3 separate regions of the Homo sapiens genome follow, and all the other regions are linked to region 1. Evidence: promoter capture Hi-C in 16 types of primary human blood cells and fetal thymus (Javierre and others, 2016). All regions are on one chromosome and are shown on one strand. Each heading gives the region's core, a stretch centred on a gene start or on the middle of the fragment in contact. The rest is flanking DNA. Distances are from core to core; before and after follow the strand shown. Region 1 holds the start of TRAIP (TRAF interacting protein). Region 2 overlaps RBM6 (RNA binding motif protein 6). Region 3 overlaps RNF123 (ring finger protein 123).

What was found. The method cuts DNA at HindIII sites, captures the fragments that hold promoters and counts their contacts. A CHiCAGO score of 5 or more calls a contact.
Region 2: a fragment that was not itself captured here is called in contact with the fragment with the promoter of TRAIP in region 1 in 1 of 17 cell types (endothelial precursors); the score reaches 5.3 in endothelial precursors.
Region 3: a fragment that was not itself captured here is called in contact with the fragment with the promoter of TRAIP in region 1 in 6 of 17 cell types (megakaryocytes, naive B cells, endothelial precursors and 3 more); the score reaches 8.3 in megakaryocytes.

Annotation. Positions count from the first base shown.
Region 1 is chr3:49,854,693-49,858,728 of GRCh38, forward strand. It overlaps TRAIP (TRAF interacting protein), which reads right to left and starts at 1,872. Exons shown (of 15, transcript NM_005879.3): 1 at 1,664-1,872. The coding sequence starts at 1,761. CAMKV (CaM kinase like vesicle associated) reads right to left here. Exons shown (of 11, transcript NM_024046.5): 11 at 3,297-4,036. The HindIII fragment of the contact is 3,060 bases long and covers 928-3,987 here.
Region 2 is chr3:50,061,689-50,065,724 of GRCh38, forward strand. It overlaps RBM6 (RNA binding motif protein 6), which reads left to right. Exons shown (of 21, transcript NM_005777.3): 15 at 274-420; 16 at 3,343-3,438. Among named protein-coding and RNA genes, the nearest start is that of RBM5, 25 kb to the right of the region's middle. The HindIII fragment of the contact is 1,270 bases long and covers 1,444-2,713 here.
Region 3 is chr3:49,700,225-49,704,260 of GRCh38, forward strand. It overlaps RNF123 (ring finger protein 123), which reads left to right. Exons shown (of 39, transcript NM_022064.5): 13 at 3-128; 14 at 248-340; 15 at 412-485; 16 at 1,267-1,384; 17 at 1,587-1,686; 18 at 1,859-1,920; 19 at 2,110-2,181; 20 at 2,409-2,529; 21 at 3,203-3,304. Among named protein-coding and RNA genes, the nearest start is that of RNF123, 13 kb to the left of the region's middle. RefSeq lists a silencer at 3,332-3,626. The HindIII fragment of the contact is 173 bases long and covers 2,115-2,287 here.

The DNA of each region.
Region 1 (4,036 bases), core at 622-3,121:
TTTAAGTAGACTAAATGGTCCAGTTAAATACAAAGATTATCAGACTGGATTTTTAAAAGTCCAACTAAATGTTGTTTTCCAAGGCTGGGTGCGGTGGTTCACACCTGTAATCCTAGCACTTTGGGAGGCAGAGGTGGGTGGATTACTTGAGTCCAGGGGTTCAAGACCAGCCTGGGCAACATAGCAAGACCCCATCTCTACTAAAAATACAAAAAAAAAAAAATAGTCAAGCATGGTGGCAGGCGCCTGTAGTCCCAGCTACTTGGGAGGCTAAGATGGGAGAATCACCTTAGCCCAGGAGGTAGAGGCTGCAGTGAGCCGAGATGGCACCACTGCACTGCAGCCTGTGTAACAGAGTGAGACCCTGTCTCAAAATAAAATAAAATAAAGATCTTTGCAGTAAGCTAAAGTACTTTTTAATATACAAAAAAAGAAATAAATGCTGTTTCAAGGGATACATGTAAAACACAAGGACACAGAAAAGTTTAAAGTAAAAGGATAGGCCCTAGCACTTTGAGAGGCCAAGGTGGGTGGATCACCTGAAGTCAGGAGTTCGAGACCAGCCTGGCCAACATGGAGAAACCCTGTCTATGAAAAACACAAAAATTAGCTGGGCGTGGTGGCGCACGCCTGTAATGTCAGCTACTTGGGAGGCTGAGGAAGGAGAATCACTTGAACTCAGGAGGTGGAGGTTGCAGTGAGCCGAGATCACGCCACTGCACTCCAGCCTACACGACAGGAGCGAGACTCCATCTCAAAAATAAAATAAAATAAAAATAAATAAATAAAGTAAAAGGATAGAAGAAAATAGAGTAGGCAAACAGAAAATAGAGTACGCTTAGAGGCGAGCTTAATTTCTAGTCTAACCAAACAGCAGTGGCTCCCTCAGCATGGGGCTCAGGCTGTCAGCAACACAGGCCTAAACAAAGCTTTGCAAGTAAGCCAGCAGCCATCAGTGTCATGCCTGCCTTTCTGCTTCCTAGGGCCTTTAGCCCCACAAGACCCTGTGATTATTATCACCCACCATTCCCAGGGGTAACGCTGCCTTATCTCTTTTGCTAGGAGGTCCAAACCGGCCTGTCCACATCTGCTAGGGGAATCTTTCCCCACTAGCTGTACACTCAACAGAATGGCCCTACACGGTCAGCAGGACCCCTGGATAGGGGAGCATCTCCTTGCCTTCCCCATGTTAAACGGGTTTGCTGACATGGCGAATACATTGGGGTGTCTGGACAGTGAGATGACTCTGGGTAGAATAATTCCAAACCATCAAGTAAGGCACAGCAAACTCTCTTGGGTAGCCAGAAGCCTAGCAGGTTTCTATCTGGAAGAAATAAAAGGACTTGTTGATGTGGTGAAAGCTCACCCTTGCCCAGGCTAACGGTTTTGAAATCACATCTGTTTGTATAGGTGATCAAGGAAGCATCTATCTTCACTGAGCCATCTTAGTCCCCCTCAGGCTTAGCTCAGCTATCACCTCTACCAGAAAGCCTGTCCTGACCCACTTCTGCCCAGGTTGGGAAGCTCCCGTGGGGCCTCGTCTAGGAGGAAGGTTCTCATCACTTGTCTGGATTCCGGGGTTGGACCGCCTGGAGGCCCAACACCTCAAGGCCCTGAAGCGGTACCCGGGCAAACACCGGGCCCCAACACTGCAGTCACTCACCACTGCAAGTGGAAGGTGTGGCCGCAGTGGATGGCGGCCACGTCGCGGGAGTGATCGAAGAAGTCGGAGCAGATAGTGCACAGAGCACGGATAGGCATGATGGCTGGACTCAAGGGGCCCAGGCAGCCAAAGAAACTGCTACAGGTCCGGCTTCGTAGACGCGCCCCCGCGCCTCCGCTTGCTTCAAATTTGGCTCCGCAGCACGACTTCCTGGAGCGGGCCGGAAGTGACAACACAAAACTTTGGGCGGAGCGTGAATACTTCGCCTGGATTGGACAAATTCTCGGATGGGCGGAACTATGGGCGGGGCTTAGCGGCCCCGAGGCCGTAGAGAATCCTGGGCGGAGCGCGGTCGCTCTCAGGCGTCCTCTGGGGAGACTCGACCTGCCACTTGAGAGCGCAGCATTATATCAAGGCGGGGAGCAGCGAGGCTGCCAGCTGGACCCTTTTCCAGGGCAAGGCAGCGCATTGTGGTCCCATGCCAGAGCTGGCGCGAGGCAGGCTGGGCCAAGGCAGAGAAAACCGCAGCCGCAAGGGAATAGAACAATGGTCCCGATGGGTCCCTTGGGCTCTGGACAGTGATGGACCATGCGCTATGGTCTGTAGTTCCCATAGACCACAATACCCTACCCTCTCAGTCCTCAGTTCCGGGCGATTCTAGAAAGATGGACACATAGGCCCCAGTCCCTCAGGTCACCCCAGGCCAACCTTGGCTTCATCCAAGTAAGATATGACTATCCTTGAGTTTGGAGACACTAGGGCCAGTACCCTGACTTTAGCTCTTAGCTCTCAGGAGGATCAGTTATGCTTGAGACTGTAGTAGGGTTGGAATTTTGGAGGCCCAGATGCTTCAAAGACTAGAGACTAACAAATCCTTTTTATTATTCCCACATCAGAGAAGTTATCTTTGAGGAGGTTATCTTTGAGGTCCTCCCAGAGAGCAGCATCCCTGGTGAGTTCACCCAGGCCCACCTGGGCTGGAGTAAGTCAACTTTTGGGTTTTTAGGCTTAGTATCTGTGGCAGTGTTACTCCCTCTACCCAGAAGAAACCCTGTGCATAGTCCCATAATATAAAGCTGATCTGCTCCAGCTGAAATAGACCCAGAGTGAGATTTCATTTGGGGCATAGGTGGAAAGCACAGGTGTTCACAGAAAGAAGGAATCAACACAGAGCAGCATAGAATCTTTGTGCATTGCTCACCCTACACCCTCTCCCTAGCTCAGGGAAGCTATCTTTGGCTATGAGCAGGGTCTGTCCTTGCGGTGGCTGGCCCAGGTAGATTCCAGCTCTATGCCTAAATCAAGAGTAAGGCTCCTCGGTCAACAGGAGTCAAAAACAGCAGCCCTTACTTGAGCTCTCAGCCCAGGGAGTATTCCTTGGTCCAAATGCAGCCCAAGACCCACTACTCACATGGATTTCTAGAGTTCAGAGGACCCCCACCACCACCACCATTGAGGAATACACTGTGGTGAGGATGATCTTCACCCTCAGCCCAAGAAATCCACAGGGCACTGTTCACTACTACTCCCAGCCACTACTTGTGAACCTGCTCCCAGCCTCTCCCTTCCCCACTGCCTTCCAGGGGCTCCTCCCCAGTAGGACAGAGGAAGCAAAGGCGAGAGGGTGGCCAGAGGCTTTGCAGGGTGATGTTTATTTGCCAGGTTCAGTAGGCACACAGTTAACCCACCGACCTTCACACACCAGAGCAGACCCACAGGCATGCAGGGAGAAGGGCAGGACCACCACGGAGTGCCGAGCAAGGGCGAGGACCAATGTGGCTGCCTATCCAGGCTGTGGTAGGGTCTGACAAAGGGCACCTGTCAGGAGCCTCCCTCAGGAAACTGGGGAGTTTAACCCTACTTCCTCATCCCAGAAAAAGCAACTCAATGTGGCTCTGAGGCACCTGGGCCTCTGATAGAAGTGAGCTGTAGAAAGAGGGAGTTCCTCTTCATTTCATTGTTGAACTGAGCAGAAAATCTGCCCCTGTAAAGGGCAAACCTCCAAATCAGATTATGAGTTATTGCCATGCAGCAAGCCCCCTAGGGTGGAGAGGACTTGTGGGCTGAGATTGTAGGAGGTGGGCATCTAGGAAGAGCAAGGAGGTATCAGCCCTCCCTGTTTGGCCCAGGGTAAGGACCCAGTAAGGCTGGGACACTGGGTGCTGGGCTTGTACTCTGCCCTGCCAGGTCTCATTGCCACGTCCTAATTGTTCCTCCTTTCCCTTAGAGGCTCATGAGGTTCAGGGTACAGGGCAGCCCACTGCAGGACTCGGAAAGGCAGGAAATAACACAAATAACAGGGTCTTAGGAAGGACAAAAATGGAAGCTTCTGCCCTCCTACTCATTCTCTCCACTCCTGAGGACCTCCACAGC
Region 2 (4,036 bases), core at 829-3,328, 210 kb after region 1:
TAGATCTATGGAAACAGAACTGTTGCCTATATGGAAAATCAGTGCCTTGTGGCAATACAGGTAAGAACAGTGTTGCTCTTGAAAAAGTGGACAGTGGGTGGTCTGAATGTGTCCTGGTCCCTGGAGTGGGTTTTTAGATTGATGTGGACTCTTCTTAGACTTGTAAGTAAAAAAGTTGTTTCTTCCCCTAAAAGGGAACTGTGCGCCTTAGACCTGGAATTGCTGGGAAACTGAAACATTCTGTAGACTTACTTGTTTCCAACTGTATCGCAGCAAGAAGTCTATGTGCCCCAGGATCCTGGATTACCTGAGGAAGAAGAGATCAAGGAAAAAAAACCCACCAGTCAAGGAAAGTCAAGTAGCAAGAAGGAAATGTCTAAAAGAGATGGCAAGGAGAAAAAAGACAGAGGAGTGACGAGGGTAAGAGGAATTGTTAATTTGCTGTCTTTTGCCACATAGTTATTAAAATGTTGGAGGTACGAACAGAGGATATCTATGTTTGCAAGTGTAAAGTAACTTTAAAAATACTCTGTCAGCCGGGCGTGGTGGCTAACGCCTGTAATCCCAGCACTTTGGGAGGCCAAGGCGGGCGGATCATGAGGTCAGGAGATCGAGACCATCCTGGCCAACATGGTGAAACCCCTGTCTCTACTAAAAATACAAAAATTAGCTGCGTGTGGTGGTACACGCCTGTAGTCCCAGCTACTCAGGAGGCTGAGGCAGGAGAATTGCTTGAACCCTGGAGGCAGAGGTTGCAGTGAGCCGAGATCGCGCCACTACACTCCAGCCTGGCAACAGAGCAAGACTCTGTATCAAAAAAAAAAAAAAAACCTCTGTTAATGAGTATTTTTACCTGGTGTAGGCAATTCCCTCACCTCTTATATCCCAACTCTCTCTTTTACAAATGGGAAAACTATGGATGGTAGAACAAAGTGGCCCAGCTCAAATCCCAACACCTCAGCTCCATACATTTTCACTTTTCTACATTCCTTTTTTAGTGTTTGACTTTATACACATTTCTCTAGTTGTAATTATAGCAGGAGATACTGTTTAGTCACTTTTTATCCTAAGTATTTTTTCCATGTTTCTATATACTCTATTATTTTTAATGCCCACATGGTAAAAATTCACGGTATAACTGTACCTTCATTTTCTTCATCTCTCCTACATTATTTGTCTTCTCTTTCTAATCTTTTCTTTTTCCTTTTTTTTTTTTTTTTTCTGAGACAAAGTCTTCCTCTGTCTCCCAGGTTGGAGTGCAGTGGCATGATCATAGCTCACTTCTACGTCAAACCCATGGGCTTAAGCAGTCCTCCCACCTCAGCCTCCCAAGTAGCGGGGACTACAGGCATGAGCCACCATGACCAGCTAATTTTTGCTTTTTTGTAGAGACAGGATCTTGCTAGATTGACCAGGCTGATCTCGAACTTCTGGCCTCAAGTAAGCTTCCTGTCTCAGTCTCCCAAAGTGCTTCAGTTACAGGCAAGACCCACCTTGCTCGCCTCTTTCTAATCTTATACTGTCATAATATATAACATTTAGCATTTTGTTTCTTCTTTTAAATTACTCCCTATGACACATTTTCAGAATCAGAGATGATGAACATTTTTACATCTAATACAAAATCAAATTATTAGGCAGGGTGCAGTGGCTCACACCTGTAATCCCAGCACGTTGGGAGGCCAAGACAGGTGGATGCCTGAGTTTAGGAGTTTGACACCAGCAACATGGTGAAACTCCATCTCTACCAAAAATACAAAAAAAATTAGCCTACTGTGGTGATGCATGCCTGTAGTCCAAGCTACTTGGGAGACTGAGTTAAGAGGATCGCTTGAGCCCAGGAGATTGCAGTGAGCTGTGATTGCGCCACTGCACTCCAGCATGGACAACAGAGCCAGACTTGTCTCAAAAAAAAAAAAAAAAGAAAATCTGCCGGGCATGGTGGCTCATGCCTGTAATCCCAGCACTTTGAGAGGCCAAGGCAGGCGGATTACTTTAGGTCAGGAGTTTGAGACCGCCTAGCCAATATGGTGAAACCCCCATCTCTACTAAAAAGACAAAAATTAGCTGGACGTGGTGGCGCAAGCCTGTAGTCCCAGCTACTCAGGAGGCTGAGGCAGGAGAATCTCTTGAACCTGAGAGGCAGAGGTTGCAGTGAGCCAAGATCACACCTACCTTGATATCAGTTATGCATTAGTGAAAATGGATGAATTTGCTTGTGATTCAATTCATAACACCTTTTTTTCCCTTTTTTTTCTTTTGAGACGGAGCCGCTCTGTCGCCCAGGCTGGAGTGCAGTGGCGTGATCTATCTCGGCTCACTGCAACCTCCGCCTTCCAGGCTCAAGGGATTCTCCTGCCTCAGCCTCCTGAGTAGCTGGGATATCAGGCGCTGCCACAACGCCCAGCTAATTTTTGTATTTTTAGTAGAGACGCGGTTTCACCATGTTGGTCAAGCTGGTCTCGAACTCCTGACCTTGTGATCCGCCCACCTCAGCCTACCAAAGTGCTGGGATTACAGGCATGAGCCACTGCGCCCAGCCTTTTTTTCCCCTTCTAACACTGTTAGTTGTTTAGAGATACAGAAAAGAGGAGAGAGAGTGTGTGTGTGTGTTTAAAAACTTAGAGTCATACTGATTTAATATTTGGACTCTGCTTCAGCCACTTAATCTGTCAAACTATATTCCCAATCATTTGTAAAATTAAGATAGTAAAGCTTACATAGGAGGATCATAGTAAAGTCTGAAGAAGACAATGTTTATATATACATGCCTCATCTGGTCTGACATACAGTAATCATGCAATATATACTAACGTTTTATTTTATTTTATTTTATTTTTTGAGACAGAGTCTCTCTCTGTCACCCAGGCTGGAATGGAGTGGCACGATCTCGGCTCACTGCAACCTCTGCCTCCCAGGTTCCAGCAGTTCTTCTACCTCAGCCTCCCAAGTAGCTGGGATTACAGGCCAAAACCACCACACCCAGCTAATTTTTGTATTTTTACTAGAGACGGGGTTTCACCATGTTGGCCAGGCTGGAGCACAGTGGCACAATCTTGGCTCACTGCAAGCTCCGCCTCTCGGGTTCATTCTCCTGCCTCAGCCTCCCTACTAACTGGGACTACAGGTGCCCGCCACCACGCCCAGCTAATTTTTTGTATTTTTAGTAGAGATGGAGTTTCACTGCATTAGCCAGGGTGGTCTCGATCTCCTGACGTTGTGATCCACCTGCCTTGACCTCCCAGAGTGCTGGGATTATAGGCGTGAGCCACCGCACCCAGCCCAGCCTTTATCAGTTATTATGAGTGAATATCATGTGAGAGTTACCTCTGGTTTGATCAGTTTCAGGAAAATGCCAGTGAAGGGAAGGCCCCTGCAGAAGACGTCTTTAAGAAGCCCCTGCCTCCTACTGTGAAGAAGGAAGAGAGTCCCCCTCCAGTAAGACCAACATTGATCCCCTGGACCTAGGGCTGGGGCTGGGGATGGTTCCGAGTAGAAGAGGAAGCGCAAAGGCTGATGCCTTCCTCTGGTGTTGGTCTTTTACCTCACTATGTCTCCCGAATAAGGATTCCCATTTCTTTTGAGTACAAGCATGAGATAAAGTTTTCTGTCTGCTAATGGGGGTATTACTGGAGAACCAGAGGCAGTTATCTGGACTCTTTCTCTCTGCCCTGTGCCATTCTTACCAGACGAGATGCCTAGCCCTTTTTATCATCTTGTTCTTGTCAGTTCTCTAAATCACCAAGGAAACCCGTTTTCTCAGCCTCAATCTTTCCTGCCTTTTGGCATCACACAAGAATCTCTTAGATATGGAGTGCATGCGTGGTCATTTTTTTATAGTTTCTGCCTGTTCAGAGTGAATGATGCTAATATTGGTGCCCATTTTTTAGATGCCTTCAAGCAGTAGTCTCAACCTAATCACCAGTGATTCTGATTGAATGCAGGTATATAACAATAGTGACCATGCATTATTTATTTATTTTGAGTGATCATAGACCAATGATTATGCATCATTATTTAACAGTTCTTATAAGGT
Region 3 (4,036 bases), core at 951-3,450, 150 kb before region 1:
AGCGCAAGGTGTATCTGGTGGAGGCTGTGCTCATGAGCTTCTTGCTGGGCATCGTGGAGAAGGGCACACCCACACAGGCACAGTCCGTGGTGCACCAGGTCCTGGACCTCTTGTGGCTCTTCATGGAGGTGAGGCTCCTGACCTCAGGCCTCAGGCCTGGCTGTCAGTCTTCACTGGGGTCGGGAAGATACGGGGAGAATCTTGGAAAAGGCCCCAGTCATGGCTGCCTTGGCATCTCTTCCCCCAGGACTACGAGGTACAAGATTGCCTCAAGCAGTTGATGATGTCTCTGCTTCGGCTGTACCGATTCTCACCCATTGTCCCAGACCTGGGCCTACAGGTGGGAGCCCCTACCCCTGCCCTGAGCCCCCTGGGACTCGCCTGTCCACTCTGAACGCCCCCTCTCCACAGATCCATTACCTGCGGCTCACTATCGCCATCCTGAGGCATGAGAAGTCCCGCAAGTTTCTGCTTAGCAATGTCCTGTATCCTTTCCTTGCTGCCTGGCAGGCCAGACATGGGGTGCCCTCTGGACTCAGCAGAGGCCAGGAAGGGGAGTGTCATCAGGCCAGGGGTCCCCTGGGAGCATCAGGAGGACCAGAGCTGCCCAACGTGGCATTTTCTCTACAGAGCAAGGACGAGAGAGCAAAGGACTGAGCCTGGCCAGCCAGCCTAGCCAGGGGGTTCTGAATGACTGCAGACTCGGGCTACGCAGAGGTGTGGGAGGGGCCACAGGGCCTGCCCTCTTCGGCCACAGCCCAGCACTTTTGTTCATGTTCCACAGTGGGGATTCCTGCAAGATCTTTAAGGAGGCAGCTCTTCCTGCTTCCCAGAATTGTTGGGAACTGCATGAGTGAGTGAGAGCATAGCTTTGAGCCCCTGGCTGGGAAGCCTCAGCTTGTAGCCGTTTTCTTGGTCTGGGGTCTTCCAGCCTCCAGGAGGCAGACACAAAGCTGGGAGACACAGAGGTCAGAGTTGGGGCCTGAGAAAAGGCCACCAGTCCCTCTCTCCAGCTTGTCCCACAGTCATCTGTTCCTGTGACAAGCCCTTATCGTGCACCTGCTGGGTACTGGAGCTGGTGGGCTTAACCACCACAGCTTTTTGTCAGGGAGCATGCCCTGGGGGTCAGACACATAGCAGCAACATGCCCCTGTGGTGGTGGGAGAGCTGTGGTAGGCACATCCAGGGATGGGCTCCTGGGGAAGGACTCTTGAGGGTGTGCAGAGTGCCCTTTGGCAAGCAGAGCCCTGCCTTGACACCCGCCAGCTTCGACGTGCTCCGCTCCGTCGTCTTCTTTTACATCAAGAGCCCCCTGCGTGTGGAGGAGGCCGGCCTGCAGGAGCTCATTCCCACCACCTGGTGGCCCCACTGCTCCAGTAGGGAGGTGAGTGCACCCCAAGTGGGATGGGCAGAGGTCATGGCAAGGCCCCTGGCCTGGGCATCTGGCCACTGGGCATCTAGCATGAGGCCTTTTCACTGGCCCTGGTCCCTGAAGCCCTGGAGATGGAGTGTGGGTGTTCTGAGTGAAGGAGGCCTGGCTAGGTCCCAGGTGACCCTGCTGTATTCCACCTGCTACCCCTGCCTAGGGCAAAGAGAGCACGGAGATGAAGGAGGAGACCGCAGAGGAGCGGCTGCGGCGGCGAGCCTACGAACGGGGCTGTCAGCGGCTCAGGAAGCGCATCGAAGGTCAGCCCGCCTTGGGCACGGGGTAGGGTGGGAGGTGTGTGTGTGCACATGAGGGTGCTTGGAGGTGCCCATGTCTAGGTGGGACTTGGGGAACCCTGGTGGTGGAGCCCTGGCCCAAACCTGCCCCCCATCTCCTGGAGCCTGAGGGCCATGTTCCTCACCTGACCTCCAGTGGTGGAAGAACTACAGGTCCAGATCCTGAAGCTGCTGCTGGACAATAAAGATGACAATGGGGTGAGTGACTCCCAGGAGCCCTGGGTGGGGCCCTGTGGGGAGGGATGCTGCACTGGGCCTTAAGACCCAGAGGGTGGGAACTGGGTTTGGTTCCCATGGCAGGGGCTGGGGGAAGGTGCAGCACTGAGCCAGCCCAGTCTGGGCCTGCATTCTCAGCTCAGCACAGCCTCACTTTTCCCTCTCTCAAAGGGTGAAGCTTCTAGGTATATCTTCCTGACCAAGTTTCGCAAGTTTCTGCAGGAGAACGCCAGTGGCCGGGGGGTAGGTGTCCTCCAGGCCAGCCCACTGTGGATCCCCGGCTGCACTACACATGCCATGCCCTCAGCACCTGGCACTTCTCGGACTGCCTCATCCCTGCCTAGCCCCAAGCTTTTCTCTGCTGCTTTTCCCTCCCTGCTTAACCCTCGACCCTCAGGCAGGGCCTTGGATGAGGAATGGGCAAGGCACTGGACTGGCACCAATGCATGTTTCATGCCTGGTGTCCACAGAACATGCCCATGCTCTGCCCCCCTGAGTACATGGTCTGCTTCTTACACCGGCTGATCTCTGCCCTGCGCTACTATTGGGATGAATACAAGGCTTCCAATCCTCATGCTTCCTTCAGTGAGGGTGAGTGGCACCGGGGTCCCAGGTCAGTGAGGCTGGACAGAGCCAGGCGTAGGGCAGCCCCTAATGTTAGTGCAGAGTGCTGAGCTGAGGCTGTGGGCTGTGGGGAGTTGTCCCCGGCATCCTGCCTGGTTGAGTCCTACCCAGCCACAGGCGGCTTCTCCACTGGGGCAGCAGGAGCCCTGCACCGCAGGCCTGCCGATCCTGTGTTTGCTCTGATTGTCCCACGGGCTCCTACCATTGTGGGCTCTTTTCTTCCGTCCTTGCCCCCCCATTTCTCTGTGCGTCCTTTATAGGGCTGCCTTGGGTGGGTGCTGGGGGGCCCTGTGTTTGAGTCCCCAAGGGTCAGTGGGAGCCTTACCTGCCCTGGATTGGGGGATATCCCACAGGACTGGGGCTGGGCCTCTCTGCTTCTCCTGAGTGAACGGCTGCCATGAGTACCCCCATCACCCCAAGTTATGCAGCTGCTGGCTCTGACCTGAAATGGCAGGGGTGGAGAAGAGGTAGGGGAGGTCTGTTTCTTGGTCCAGGAGACAGTTTCTCTGTCTGCCTGGATGGGTGAGTGGCCAAAGCCAGAATTCCCAGGCTGTGCTAGGCCAGATTGGAGGGGAGGGCTGTGGGGAGGGTCTTCCTACTGGGCCGTGACCACTGGCCTAGCCTCCTCAATTCCTCGCAGAGGCCTACATCCCGCCCCAGGTCTTCTATAATGGCAAGGTGGACTACTTTGACCTGCAGCGCCTGGGGGGCCTCCTCTCGCACCTGCGGAAGACCCTCAAAGGTGTGTACAGGCCTGTGGGCCGGGAGCAGTTCTGGGGCCAGGTGGGGGACTGTCCCTGAGCCTGCTCTGCTGTGGATGCTGAGCCATCCTATGGCCACCAGAGGGTGCCCAAGTCTTTCCACCCACTCAGGCAGGGAGACACTGATCTGCCTGCCCTACATCTGGGCAGCTTCTCTTTCCCGCCAGCACCCACGCCATAGGGGTCGGGCGTGCCTGGCAGGGGACCAGGGATCTTGGTGAGGTGTGGATGGGGCGTGCAGGTGCTGCCGGAGCTGCCTTCAGGGATGAGCACAAGCTGCCCCGGTGCAGGGCTGAGGGCACAGCGAGAGCAAGGCCCTGAGCCGGGCACAAGGGTGGGTCTGTGCTGTCAGAACCTCTCTCTGGCTGCCGCAGTGTATACGCCGGAGTGCAGGGGCTGAGAGACAGGGAGCCCAGGTGTCCCCACACAGGAGATAAGGGCCTGCCCAGGTAGGTAGGGGAGGGCACAGGTGGAGGAGAGGAGTCAGGATGACCCCAGGCTTCCTGCCAGAGGTTGTGTGGATGGGGTGCCATCAGGGAGAGGGGCTGCAGGAGGTGGTGGAGATGAGAAATTCTGTTTGGACACAGCGCGTTTAGCGGGGAGCAAGGCCTGGGCGGGGGGCAGCGAAGGCGGGGTCAGTTGTCAGCACGGTGGTGGGGATGAGCCTGGGATGAGGCTTGGCTCCCACTGGGAGTGCCCAGAATGAAGCAGCC